Linked DNA regions of Homo sapiens: region 1 is linked to region 2. The links are contacts of gene promoters, found by promoter capture Hi-C in human tissues and cell types (Jung and others, 2019). All regions are on one chromosome and are shown on one strand. Each heading gives the region's core, a stretch centred on a gene start or on the middle of the fragment in contact. The rest is flanking DNA. Distances are from core to core; before and after follow the strand shown.

Evidence for each region. The method cuts DNA at HindIII sites, captures the fragments that hold promoters and counts their contacts. A contact is called where the count stands out against the background at its distance.
Region 1: a fragment that was not itself captured here is called in contact with the fragment with the promoter of COX4I2 in region 2 in 1 of the 25 tissues and cell types used here (mesenchymal stem cells).

The regions. Positions count from the first base shown.
Region 1 is chr20:31,939,675-31,946,874 of GRCh38, forward strand. TTLL9 (tubulin tyrosine ligase like 9) reads left to right here. Exons shown (of 15, transcript NM_001008409.5): 15 at 3,271-5,326. The coding sequence ends at 3,347. It overlaps PDRG1 (p53 and DNA damage regulated 1), which reads right to left. Exons shown (of 5, transcript NM_030815.3): 4 at 6,822-6,902; 5 at 4,663-6,215. The coding sequence ends at 6,133. Among named protein-coding and RNA genes, the nearest start is that of PDRG1, 8.8 kb to the right of the region's middle. The HindIII fragment of the contact is 5,609 bases long and covers 2,041-7,200 here.
Region 2 is chr20:31,636,219-31,643,029 of GRCh38, forward strand. COX4I2 (cytochrome c oxidase subunit 4I2) reads left to right here and starts at 1,694. Exons shown (of 5, transcript NM_032609.3): 1 at 1,694-1,744; 2 at 2,800-2,881; 3 at 3,715-3,879. The coding sequence starts at 2,800. RefSeq lists a silencer at 1,615-1,754. The HindIII fragment of the contact is 12,374 bases long and covers 1-6,811 here.

The DNA of each region.
Region 1 (7,200 bases), core at 3,595-6,094, 310 kb after region 2:
ATTAAGAGCCTCCCTCTTGAATGCACTTTTTGGTCCAGTCCGGATGAAATCTTTTACATACATTATCTCATTTTATCTTTAAGGAGTTTTTATTGTCATTTTACAGATGAGGAAATGATATCCAGGTGCTATGTAACTTGCTGAATGAAGGTTTTGGCCATAAGTGGTGAGCCAGGACTCAAACTCCCATCTGCCTGGCTCCAAAACTTGAGTGCTTGTCCGCTAGACTCTCCTGCCTCTTGGCAGAGTTTAAAAAAATTACCATATGGCTGCAAAATATTTCAGTTTGTACATATGCCAAAATTTACTAAACCAATTTCTTATAATTGGACATTTGGCACAATTGCATTTTATTTTTTTTTTACTTTTATAAATTATACCATGATGAACATCCTTTCACATTAAGCTCGGCTGAAATTCTGGCCATTTCCTGAGGACAGATTCCTAGAAGCAGAATTATTGGGCCAAAGGGATGGGATTATTACAACCAAATTTCTTTCCAGAAAGATTATACGAATTTGTCAGATTTGAATTTTTAGAAAAAAGAAATCTGTGCCAACTGGTGAGGTAAAACATACTGACTCGTTGTTTTATGTGCATTCCATTGATTACTGGTGAGGTTTCCGTTTTTTAAATTTGCATTTCTTCTTTTGTAAGCTGTCCATACTCTTTATCCATTTTTCTATGGGTTGTTTAGTTTTCTAAATGTATAAGGCTTCAGATGACTATATAACACTGTCCAAGCTTAATTTAATATGCATACAATCACCTGGAAATCTTGTTAAACTATAGATTGTGACTCCATAGGTCTAGGGTGGGGCCTAAGATTGTATTTCTAACAAGCTCCTGGGTGATGCTCTATTGATTAACCATTGCTGTGTAACAAGCCCTCCCAAAACCTAGCAGCTTAAAGCAACTATTTTATTTGCTCATCCTTCCTCAGGTCTCTCCTGGGGTCACTTATAGGGCTGCAGGCACCTGGCAGATTTACTGGAGACTTGATGGTGTACGACAGCCTCATTCATAGGTGTGGGGGTTGATACTGGCTGTCAGTTGGGCCTCTCTTTCCATGTGGCCACTCGTCTTCCAACAGTCTGGCCCTGGCTTCTTCACGTGGTAGACTCGGGGTTCTAAGAGGGTGAGAAAACACACTGCAAAGCCTTTTGCGGCCCGGACTCAGAAGTCCCATAAAGTCATTCTGCTACAATCAAAGCATTTGCTGGTGTAGCCCAGTCACTGGGTAAGAAAATAGACCCCACCTCGCCGGGCGCGGTGGCTCACGCCTGTAATCCCAACACTTTGGGAGGCCGAGGCGGGCGGATCATGAGGTCAGGAGAGCGAAACCATCCTGGCTAACACGGTGAAACACTGTCTCTACTAAAAAATACAAAAAAATTAGCCAGGCGTGCTGGCGGGCGCCTGTAGTCAGCTACTCGGGAGGCTGAGGCAGGAGAATGGCGTGAACCCGGGAGGCGGAGCTTGCAGTGAGCCGAGATTGCGCCACTGCACTCCAGCCTGGGCGACAGAGCGAGACTGTCTCACACAGAAAAAGAAAAAAAAAAAAAAAAAAGAAAATAGACCCCACCTTTTGATGAGAGGAGCAGCAAAGTCACCTTGCACAGAGGTGTGCATATAGGAACATTGTTGCAGCCTTCTTTGCCAACAGTGCACCAAAGATATCAATGCGCTACTTCCTGGACCCCCATTTGAGTAGCAAAGATGGAAAGCGGCGGTTCTCTATCTTGGCTGCCCATTGGAATCACCTGGGAGCTTTAAAGACTACTGACGCCTGCCAGATCAAGATATGGTTGGTGTGGGCATCAGTAGCTTTTAAAGCTCCCAGGTGATTCCAATATGCAGCCCAAGTTGAGAGCTACTGTTTTTTTTTTATTATTTTTTTTTGAGACGGAGTCTCGCTCTGTTGCCCAGGCTGGAGTGCAGTGGTGCAATCATAGCTCACTGTAACTAACCTCAAACTCCCAGGCTCAAGCAGTCCTCCTACCTCAGCCTCCTGAGTAGCTAGGCCTACAGGCACACACCACACCTGGCTAATTTTATTTTTGTGTGTGTGATTTTTTTCCTGTAGAGACAAAATCTCACTATATTGACCAGGCTGGGAGAGCCAGTGCTTTAGAAGTCTCTAGAATTATTCCTGTTTCAAGTGTTTGGGTTTATGGTGGTAAACACAAGGGTAGCTGGTTAGGGTAGGAAGAGTACTGATGAACTGAGTTAGGGAAGCGTTCAGGGACATCCAGGTGAAAGGGTCAGCAGATAACTCAGAGATGAGTGTAGAACTCCAAGAAGTTTGCACTGGACAAGAAGACTCGAGAGTTAGGAATGAGCCAAATAGAGTTTAAGTTAGGGCTGCATGGAACTCACTCTGGAAAACCCTGAGGATGTGCATCGTAGGCTCTCAGCTCAGTGAATGGCTGAGTGAGTGTCTGGGAAGCAGGGACAGGGTTTGGGGGGATGTGGAAGATGGCAGACACCCACAGGTCAGAACTAGTGGCCACAGAGATTCAGTCATTCAAGCAGCATTTTTGAGTGCCAGCAATGTGCCTGGCATGAGGTTAAATGACCATAGTTACCTCAAGGATCAGCTCTGAGAGCAAACAGCCAACATGTAGCACCATGAACGTCCTGGGAGAGACGTCTCAGCAGCTCACGGCAGCCTCAGCACGAACTGCCTGGGATTGGGGGCCACATGTACGGAAAACTCATCTCTTAGCCAGTTGTGCCTGGCACATGGGTTGGGTAAGGGAAGAAAGCTAACAGTACTGGGCAGCTATGAGGTGCCAGGCACTGTGCTAGCTTTAAATGCATTTTCACTGAGCAAAGCCAGGAGAAGCAGCAGCGTGGGGTAGTGGTTAAGAGTGTGGCTCTGGCACCAGGTAGTCTGGGTTCAAATGATTTAACCTCTCTGAGCCTGTTTTCCCTTCTACACATCATTCCTGCGAGGGCCAAACAAATCCATCCACATTCAGCATCTGGAGCAGTTCCTGGCTTGAGGTAAGCCCCCAGTCCTCATGTTCACTCCATAAGGTGGGCAGTAGTATCCTGGTTTACAGATGAGAAGACCGATGCTGAAAAGGGTAACTGACCTGCTTGAGGGCCATGGCAGTTTAGGAATGGAGCCAGGATATAAACCACAGGCTGTGTGTGGTTGTCTGACTCCCGCTGTCCCCTCTTCCCAGCAGGGAGTTGGGGCACAGGCCCCTCCACTCCTCCCAAGCATAGGTCATCCCAGCCAACACCCCACTTCCTTTCCAGGCTGCGTCAACGATCGGAAGAAACAACTGAGGCAGCTCTTCTGCTCCCTTCAAGTTCAGAAGAAAGCTTCCAGTTGATCCCCAGCTGCCAGGAGGAAATCAGCCTTAGCAGGTGCCACCCAGGCCTCCCCCCCACTCCCAGATCCCAGCACAGCACCTCACAGCATTCGCCTCCCCACCTCCAGCCTGGCACCAGCTTTGCTGGCTTAGCAGCTGCAGCTTACTACCTGAATTGGGCCCCTTGGATACCTCCAGCCCATCCCCAGGCATCTTTGCACCAGGAGACAGCCAATCACTGGGACTGGGGGAGGTTTAACCTTGACAAACTGACTTGGCAGTTAGGCCCAAAGAGAACAAATACAGCAAGTTCTGCTACCCCCAGGAGATCATATCTAATAAATGAGCACAGGCCCTACTTGGAGTCACTGGGCACCAGGCCTGGTTCCGGGGATACTGTTGGCTGCAGCCAAGTCCTCCTGGCTTTGACACTTGGATACCTCCCAAGTCAGTGCTGAAAAGGTCCTTCAGGAGCAAGAGTTTGGAGGCTAAGGAACTCGTCTTTAAGCTGTGCTTACACAGCAAGCAGTTATTAGATTGTGTGTTTATTGGGGGCCTGGGGAAGTACTGAGCCCTAAACACATCCTCTTCTCCTTGCATGTCAGGGGAGCCCATGGGGCTCCCTGACCATCATCTGAAAACCAGTGGGACAGGGCATCCCCATTTCTCAGATGGACAAGACAGACCAGGGAGGCAGAGCTTAGTGAGGGTCTCTGCAAAGGTGCATTTATCTAAGTCAGATGGGTGACTTAAGTGCTTCTCTAGGCCTTGTGTTTGAGATTGGGAGCTGAGCCAGAAACCGGAAAACCCTGGGCTCATGGGCAGGACAGCTTCGGGAGTTGAGTGTGAGTAAAAATCTGCCTTTTCACATCTTACATTGCTAAGCTTCCTCTTGGTTTAAGAGGGGTTGCAACAAGACTCGGGGCTGTTGGGGTAACTGTTCCAGGGGGGACTTACTCCCTCTACCACTCCGCCTGCTTCAGAGTAGTTTCTCTGGCTGCAAATGGTTGAATCTGCCTGCCTAGGTCAAGCCCGAAGGGAAGACTTTTGGAAGGAAAATACTGGCAAATCCAAGAAGTGAACCAGCCGACTTTAGGAAAGCCAGAAGCCAGGCTACTCTAGACCTTCTGCCTTCAGAGCATGAGGACTTCTCCCACTCATCCCTGTACCTGAGGCACACCAACCCAGACAGGTCCAGGCATGGACTCCAGGTTCCCTATTTCCAGAAGGAATGCGATTAGCTTTTTTTGGCCCAGCACCCACCCTGCCAGGGAGGAAGGGGCAATTTTCCAGTGATGAAATTGTGAATCAGGCAGTCACACTGGACAACATCTAGCAAGGTGAATTCTGCAACTCCCTACTTTATTTACATTTTAAAATAAGCAATATATTCATACGGTTTAAAATCCAAAGTTTACAAAAGGGTATAGGGTGACATCTCCTTCCCTCCCACCTGTGCGCCCCAACCCTGCAGGTGCTGTTCTGAGGGAATCACACTGTGCTTGCACAAAAATTATTAGCTTATAAGACACCAGCCTTCCCCTTGCTTTCCTCACTTGATGTATCTTGGAGCTTGTTCCTTATTCTTGATTATAGTTGTATGGTATTGCACTATCTGGAGCTAACACCTGTGACCCACACTCATGTTTTAAAAGTTTCTGCATTAGTCAAAAATATTTAAAAGGAGATTCAACTTCACAACCCATATGTCTAGCTTCTCTTGAAAACACGTAAGAACTGGCCATGACAGCCTGTGTTTCTATGTAACTATGAGCCAGAGCCAAGGAGCGGGGGGACCAGGAGAGGTGTGCCCCTGCCATGCTGCCATTTGTTATCACCCGCCTGTCAAATCACAGGTTTATTTCAAGGCAAGAACCATGTTCATAGGTTGTATTCTAAATGGAGTGGCGTGCCCTTACTGAAGGACTAGATGAGGCAAATAAAGACTAGTTGCTGCTATTCATTCATTCAGCTAACATTTATTGAGCCCTTAATGAACACATAAGAGTTTTGACTTCACGGCAGTTCATACTGGGACCTCAGACCACTGAAGGCAGACAGTAACGAGCAGTGCTGGCCGGGCCCCACTTTCAGAGGGGGCGGAAGGGCATCTTGACACGTGTCATATGGTAAGAGGCGCATCCACTCACCCAGGCCTGGTGCAGGACTCTGCAAGGCCCTCCTGAGTAAAGAGTGGCCACGAAGGGCTGCTAGGCAGCACCTACTCTTGGAATCAAGCAGGGAAAAAGTGCAAAATTGGAGCTGGCGGGAGGTGTGTGTGCCTGCCCCACAGATGGCTGTGGTGAGCCACAAAGCACCAAGATTCTGTTCTTCATTCAGCAACCACCCATGAGCCTCCTGCTTTATTCCAATCGCATGGCACCAGCCTGAAAACCTCTCTCCCTTCTGAGAGGAATGCTGGAATGACACTCCACTCTGCCCCTCCCTCCCTCCTTCCTTGCTCAGGGTCCATGTGAACAGCAGGCCATTGTTGGGAAGTGCCTGTTGCAGTCATTCTTACACCCCCACAGCCACTGCCCCACACACCCACTGGTGGCTACCAAGGCCCGTCAATAGATCTTGTGTCCACCGAGCCCTGGTGTCCAGGTCCAGCAGCCAGACAGGCTGAAGGTTCCCTCCTGCCATCACAGAGTAGCCAAGCACTACAAAGAGGTTTTCATGGCCAGATTCCTGACGGCTGGCCCCTTACAGGGCAGATCCTGTCCTTACAGGTGTCAAGGTTGGAGGGTCCTGGGTCCTCCATGACCCTGGGGGGTTGCTGGTCCCCCATCTTGGTTCTTGAGTCTCATCCTTTCAAGATGACCTTGAGAGCTTTAAGCTCATCCTGGTTGAGGGGGTTCAAGTTAAAACCCTTCAGCTCCGGTTTGCCTAGGAGAGAAGATGATCCATCAGCACGTCGGGCCTCCTGCTGGCTCTGGAGCCAGGCCCAGGAAAGGGGCTGACGCTGCACTAATGCTGCCAAACTCAGCCTGGAGGTCTGGCAGGGATGGGCCTCCAATTCTGCAATGCACCAGATGAGGCATCACCACTGCTCCTGTGTCACCAAGAGCCTGCAAACGCGTAACTCTGCTGCCCAAAGAACCTCAGGTTTTTCCAAGACCTGTGACCAATCTAGAGTGCTTGCATTTATCAAGAATTTCAGCTCTGACCTCACTCACTCACTGAAGCCTTCTGAGTTTCCTCAGTCAGAGCTATCTGATCCCCATGCCATGCCCCGATGTATAACGTGAGATCACCCCAAGCGGTTCCTGGGACCTGGAAAAGAAACTATGACAGGACTAGGACTGTAGAAGTCCCCCTGTCCATTCTGTCCCTGGGCAGCTACAACCAACCACTGTGCACACCTCCAGGGCCACTCACAGGCTGCCCCGGACACTGCCCATCTCTGAGGGTCGGACTTCCCATCCCTGCCCTTCAAAGTCCATGCTGATGATTCCCTCCCCTTCTTATCTCCAGTCCCTGCTAAGCCAATACCTTGGGCCTCAAAAAGGCGGTTGACCTTCACTTTAAGTTGCTTCCGCAGTTTTTCTATTTCTTTATCCAGATGATCTTGATCTGAAAAAATGAGGGGGGCAAGCAGAGGATAAGATTGTACCAGACAGACTTGATCCCAGTAGTGGAGAGGCCAGCCTCTCCCCAGCAAGGGCGTGTAGCTTTCAGGAAGGAAAAGGGGACATCAGAGGCCAACTGAGGAAGGATTAAAGTCTAGAAGGGACATGACCTGCTCAGGACCACTCAGAGAGCCCAGGACACAGCAGTCCCAACTCCCATTACACTGGCCTTTTCTGCATTATGCAAAGTACCTTGGGGTGGTCAGTGGATGGAGAAGGCAACATCAGGACTTTAGGCTGCC
Region 2 (6,811 bases), core at 444-2,943:
CTCTATAGCCCCCAACATTTATCCTGGTAAACAAGTATGCAATAAATGCCAGCTGAAACAGGTCTTTATAAGTTTTTTTTAAGTTTTTTTTTTTTTTTTTTTTTTTTTGAGGAGTCTCACTCTACCACCCAGGCTGGAGTGCAGTGGTGCGATCTTGGCTCACTGCAACGTCTGCCTCCCAGGTTCAAGCGATTATCTAGCCTCAGCCTCCCGAGTAGCTGGAATTATAGGTGTCCCCTGCCACACTCGGCTAATTTTTGTATTTTTAGTAGAGACGGGATTTCACCACGTTGGCCAGGGTGGTCTCAAACTCTTGACGTTAGGTGATCTGCTCGCCTCCGCCTCCCAGAGTGCTGGGATTGCAGGCATGAGCCACCACGCCCAGTTTTATAAGTAATTCTTGAATAAATGTGCCTGAGCCTTGTCTATTTTTTTTTTTTTTTTTTTTGAGATGGAGTCTCGCTCTGTCACTAGGCTCGAGTGCAGTGGCATGATCTTGGCTCACCGCAACCTCTGCCTTGCGGGTTCAAGCCATTCTCCTGCCTCAGCCTCCTGAGTAGCTGGGACCACAGGCGCCTGCCACCATGCCTGGCTAATTTTGTTTGCATTTTTAGTAGAGACGGGGTTTCGCTGTGTTAGCCAGGATGGTCTCCATCTCCTGACCTCATGATCTGCCCCCCTTGGCCTCCCAAAGTGCTGGGAATTTTTTTTTTCTTTTTCTTTTTCTTTTTTTCTGAGACAGAGTCTTGTTCTGTTGCCCAGGCTGGAGTGCAGTGGCCCGATCTCGGCTCACTGCAACAGCCGCTTCCCAGGTTCAAGTGATTCTCCTGCCTCAGCCCTCTGTGAAGCTGGGACTATAGGTGCGCGCCACCACGCCCTGCTAACTTTTTTTTTTTTTTTTTTTTTTTTTGAGATGGAGTCTAGCTCTGCTGCCCAGGCTAGAGTGCAGTAGCCGGATCTCGACTCACCGCAACCTCCGCCTCCCGGGTTCAAGCGATTCTCCTGCCTCAGCCTCCTGAGTAGCTGGGATTACAGGTGCGTGCCACCACGCCCAGCTAATTTTTGTATTCTTAGTAAAGATGGGGTTTCACCATGTTGGCTAAGCTGTCTCAAACTCCTGACCTCGTGATTTGCCTGCCTTGGCCTCCCAAAGCGCTGAGATTACAGGCATGAGCCACCGCGCCCGCCCAATTTTTCTATTTTTAATAGAGAAGGTGTTTCGCCATGCTGGGCAGGCTGGTCTCAAACTCCTGACCTCAGGTGATCCTCCCGCCTCGGCCTCCCAAAGTGCTAGGATTACAGGCGTGAGCCACTGCTGGCCTAAAAGATGCTTCTGGAGTAGGAGGCATTGGGCCTGGCTGGAAGGTTTGCGTCTGCAAAGGCCTGAAGAGAACATCCCAGGTGGGAGAAACAGCAAGGAGGGGAGGTGTGGAGGAGGCAGGGAGACCCTGTTCTTGGGACTACTGTCTGCAGAGGGTCTCCAGAGGCAGGACCCCGGTAGGGACACTGATGCAGGAGGCGCTCTGCAGTGCCTCCCCCCAATCTGTGGGCCGGGGTGCCCCCAGGGACGCAGGCTGTGCGCTCCCACGCCCTGCCGAAGCAGGACGTTCCCACGCTGGGGCGGCCCCGAGAAAGGCTGTGGGGCGGGCCGGGGGCGGGCGCCCGCACTCAGGTCCCTCCGCAGCGGGTTCTCAGTTGCTCGCTGGGCAGACCCAGGTCGCGCTCCCACTGCCGAGCCCGCGAGGTGAGTGAGTTGGGGGAGGACCCCGCCACCCAAGCCCGCGCGGGTCAGGGGCGCGGCTCGGTCTCCTGCCTTCGCCGCTGGGTCACGCCCCAGTGGTCCCTGTCTTAGAGGGTTGGGGGGCTTCTTGTAGGTTAGAGTTGAAGACTCCTGGGGAGTCTGCATATGTGTGCCATCTCTTTCCCCAAATATAGATTACATCCTCCCTCTCTTGATATGTGGAGCTCTCCCACCCACTAATCATAATCACTGGCCGGAGCCCCTCTTTTCCAGAAGTGTGGGCCGCCCCCTCCCACTTATCACCTGTAGTGTGCCCCCTCCCTCACTCTATTTGTTGGGTGCCCCTCTCTCTCCCTAGATGTGGGACTCCCCTTCTTTTCCCCAGATGTGTGTCTCCCTCCCTCTGACCCAGTTAAGTCCCCATCCTCTAAAGCCCCTCCCCACCACCATGGATGCCAAACCCTGAGTCTTCCCTGGGGGTGGGAGACTGGGCTCAGCCAGACTGGCTAAGCCCAGTCCCCACCCCAACCAGATCCAGCAGAGCAGGCCTGTGTGCACGTAGGCAGCCAATTAGGGGGGAAGGGGTGGGGGCCAGACCGTCTGTCTGTTCTGCCGGTGCAGGGGCCTCTGGCCCCTGCAGGGAAGAGAGACTCAAGAACTGCTCCCTCTCCACCTGGACCCCACCCAGCTTCCTCTGGGGAGCAAACAAGTGAGCGGGGTTCTCCAATCTGGCCAGACTGAGCTGGGGCTGGCACCAGAACCCAAGCCCTCAGCCTCAAACTCTTCAGACCCTGGCCCAAGACTTAGGCCTCCTCCCACTTCTCAGATGGTGAATTGAGGTCCCAAAAAGGGGCTTCAAAGGTCTAGGACCCCCATTGGCCCCCCGCTGGGGATATCAGACAAAATTAGAAGGGTCAAGGGCATGAGGGTGACCTTGAAACACTGGGACACCCCTACCACTACCATACCAGTGGAAAAGGATTTTTCCATCTGGCCCTGCGGTTTGGGGGCAGAGGGTGATGTGGGGGCAGAACTCATCTATACCTTCACGCCCCCAGATGCTCCCCAGAGCTGCCTGGAGCTTGGTGCTGAGGAAAGGTGGAGGTGGAAGACGAGGGATGCACAGCTCAGAAGGCACCAGTGAGACCTGGACTCCTTCCTCCCTGCCTAACTCCAGAGATAGGGGCAGGGGTCCCCTCTGCAGGCTGCCCCCTTTGCCCTTCCATGCCACCCTGGGCCTGTTCCTACCACACTTCCCATGTTCCCATGATCCCACTCCTTGGTCCAAGGTCAAGTTTCTCCAGGAAATGGAGTGCGCGGGGTGAGCAGACAGTGGTCATCTCCATTCCAAGCTTCCTTAGGAGCCAGCCCCCAAGCCTCAGGCCCCTAGACCTTTTGTTCTGAGGTGGAGGATGCTGACAGAACCTTGGACCCTGATTCCTCCTTTCCAGACCCTAGTTTCAATGCTAGTAAGAAGAAAGAGACCTAAAGTAGGAGAGACTTCAGCCAGATAGCAGAAGGGCCTTGCTGACCCATGGAGAATAACAAAGATAACATTTATTGAGCCCTTACTAGTACCCCAAGCTATTATAAACCTCCTTTTTTTTTTTTTTTGAGATAGAGTCTTGCTCTGTCGCTCAGGCTAGAGTGTTCAGTGGCGCAATGTCGGCTCACTGCAACCTCCGCCTCCTGGGTTCAAACAATTCTCCTGACTCAGCCTCCCGAGTAGCTGGGATTATAGGTGCCCACCACTGCGCCCGGCTAATTTTTGTATTTTTAGTAGAGGAGAGGTTTTACTGTCTTGGCCAGGCTGGTCTCGAACTCCTGACCTCGTGATCCACCCGCCTCAGCCTCCCAAAATGCTAGGATTACAGGCATGAGCCACCAAGCCCGGCCACCTTCTTTATTAATATAGTTAGAGATAGGGTGTCCCAAGGGCAGCCTGGACTCAGCTCCCTCCATTGTGTCTGCAGCCCGTGGTGGGGGGAAGATGTCCCCCTACACCAACTGCTATGCCCAGCGCTACTACCCCATGCCAGAAGAGCCCTTCTGCACAGAACTCAACGCTGAGGAGCAGGCCCTGAAGGAGAAGGAGAAGGGAAGCTGGACCCAGCTGACCCACGCCGAAAAGGTGGCCTGTAAGTGTCAGGGTGGGGCTGGCTGGAGAGAGTGGGTTGGGGGCTGACTTTGGAAAGAATGGCCTGTCAGGGATCAGAGGGCAGAGAGAGGCCCCCAAGACAGCCAGAAACCTCCAAACACCTGAGGGGTGAAGTTCATGCCTTTGTTCGTTTCTTTATTCACTCACCTGTTTGTGCATAGCCTGATGCTAGGCAATGCTGGGGACATGAGGTGAATCACCTGGATAGTTCCTGCCCCCATGGTGCCCCCGGTCCCGTGGGGAAAACCAATACAGACTCCAATAATTGTAATACAGAACATGTGGCTAGGGTGAGGTGTGTTCAAGGACTGTGAGATGAAATCTTGGTGGACCTCCCAGAGGAGGGCACATTCCAGCTGGCCTTTAAGGGTGAAGAGGAGGGCACTGCCAGGGAGTGGGAACTGCATGGGGAAGGGTGTCAGAGCAGGAGACTGTGGAGGGCCCTGGAATTGAGTGATGTGGGGGAGATGGGACAGAGAGAGGCAGGTGAGGCGGTTGGGGAGGAGCCCTCTGACCCTGGGAGGCTGGAGGGATGTGTGGTCCCTTGTCATGTCCACCAGAGCATCCCTGAGCTGACCCTTTGAAATTTGGAGCACCTTATTTTCATTCCATGAATGGGAACACTCAGCCTGACCTCCAAGATTTCAAGGGATTCCTAGTGGGGAAAGGTTCATGCTTCTCACATTCATTCATTCAGTCAACATCTTATTTGGCACCTACTACAATACCATGCACTGGGAATGCAGCTGTGAGCCAGCCAGGCTCCGTTCCTGCCTGTGAGCTTGCATTTCCAGCCCTCTCTCAGCACCTTTACCCCTTCTCTCTCTCTCTCTTTCTACACACACACACACACACACACACACACACACACACACACATCTTGGTTTTTTCTTCATCCATTTCAGAAATTGACACTCTTGGGGGGAGAGGGGAGGAATAGCATTAGGAGATATACCTAATTCTAAATGATGAGTTAATGGGTGTAGCACACCAACATGGCACATGTATACATATGTAACAAACCACATGTACCCTAAAACTTAAAGTATAATAATAATAAAATTTAAAAAAAAAAGAGAAATTGACACTCTTTATCTGAGCATGGTGGCACATGCCTGTCGTCCCAGCTATTTGGGAGGCTGAGGCAGGAGGATCACTTGAGCCCAGGGGAGCTGAGGCTAGAGTGAGCTGTGATTGTGCTACGGCATTGCACTCCAGCCTGGGTAACAAAGTGAGACCCTGTCTGAAAAAAAAAAAAAAAAAGAGAGAGAGAGAAAGAAATGATGGACATTCCCCAAGCAAGATGATAATGAGCACCATCCCTAATATGTCCTGCACGCTTACATGTAGCAGGCACCGCTGTGGCGTTAGGTTGCTCTCGTTAGCTCACATTTGAGAGACTGAGGCTCAGTGGCGTGCAGTCACTTACAGTGGTTGCACAGCTAGAGAGTGGTGGAGGCAAGATTTGAAACCACATAGACAGGCACCAGGGGTTTCACCCTTAGCTGCTACACCACATTAGCTACAATGAAGGTTTGGTGGGATGCTTGGGGAGTTTCAGTGTAACCTCACAGCTCAAACAACTTTTTTTTTTTCCTTTTCTTTGAGACAGGGTCTCTGTCACCCAGGCTGGAGTGCAGTGGCCCCATCTCGGCTCACTGAAATCTCTGCCTCCTGGGCTCAAGCGATCCTCCCACTTTGGCCTCCTGAGTAGCTGGGACTACAGGCGGGCGCCACCACACCTGGCTATTTTTTTTTTTGTATTTTTTTTGTAGAGACAGGGTTTCACCATGTTGGCCAGACTGGTCTCGAACTCCTGATCTCATGATCCACCCACCTCAGCCTCCCAAAGTGCTGGGATTACAGGGGTGAGCTACCATGCCCGGCTATTTATTTATTTATTTATATTTCTGTAGAGACAGAGCAGTCTCACTATGGTTGCTCAGGCTGGTCTTGAACTCCTGGGCTCAAGCAATTCTCCTGCCTCGGCCTCCCAAAGCACTGGGATTACAGGCATGAGCCATCATGCCAGGCCAAATGCCTTGAGTCTTGTCAGACCTCTTCCAGGGCAGGCAGGCGTGGCAGCACTGGAGTGCATGGCCTGTGTCTATGCATGGCTCTACCACAGCCACACTGAGTGGCCTCCACTGGTTGATTTCATTGTCTCAGCCTGAACCGCCCACCCAAGTATCTTCCCAAAACCTAAGACAGTTCCCTTTTCCCAAGGAATTCTGCTGCCAGCTTTGATTTTCCTTTAGATATTTATTTTCATATTTATTTAATGTACTGAGAAAGGATTACACACGTAGGGTAATTTTTTTTTTTTTTTTTTTTTTTTTTGAGACAGAGTCTCGCTCTGTCGCCTAGGCTGGAGTGCAGTGGCATGATCTCGGCTCACTGCAACCTCCGCCTCCCGGGTTCACGCCATTCTCCTGCCTCAGCCTCTCGAGTAGCTGGGACTACAGGTGCCCGCCACCACTCCTGGCTAATTTTTGTATTTTTAGTAGAGACGGGGTTTCACTGTGTTAGCCAGGATGGTCTCGATCTCCTGACCTCGTGATCCACCACCTCGGCCTCCCAAAGTGCTGGGATTACAGGCGTGAGCCACTGCGCCCGGACTTACCTGGCTAATTTTTAAATTTTTTCTAGAGACAGGGTCTCGCTTTATTGCCTAGGATGGTCTTGAACTCTTGGACTGAAGCAATCCACCCGTCTTGGTCTCCCAAAATTCTAGGATTACAGGCATGAGCCACCAAGCCTGGCCCCCTCCCTAATTCTGTTAGAATGAAATCCAAACTCTTCTCCATGGATTCTAACAAGGTCCTGTGTGAACCGGCTCTGCCTCTCATTTGAGAGAGCCAGCCTCTCATTTGCTAAATTCTCTCTCTTTTGCTCATTTCACTCCAGCTACA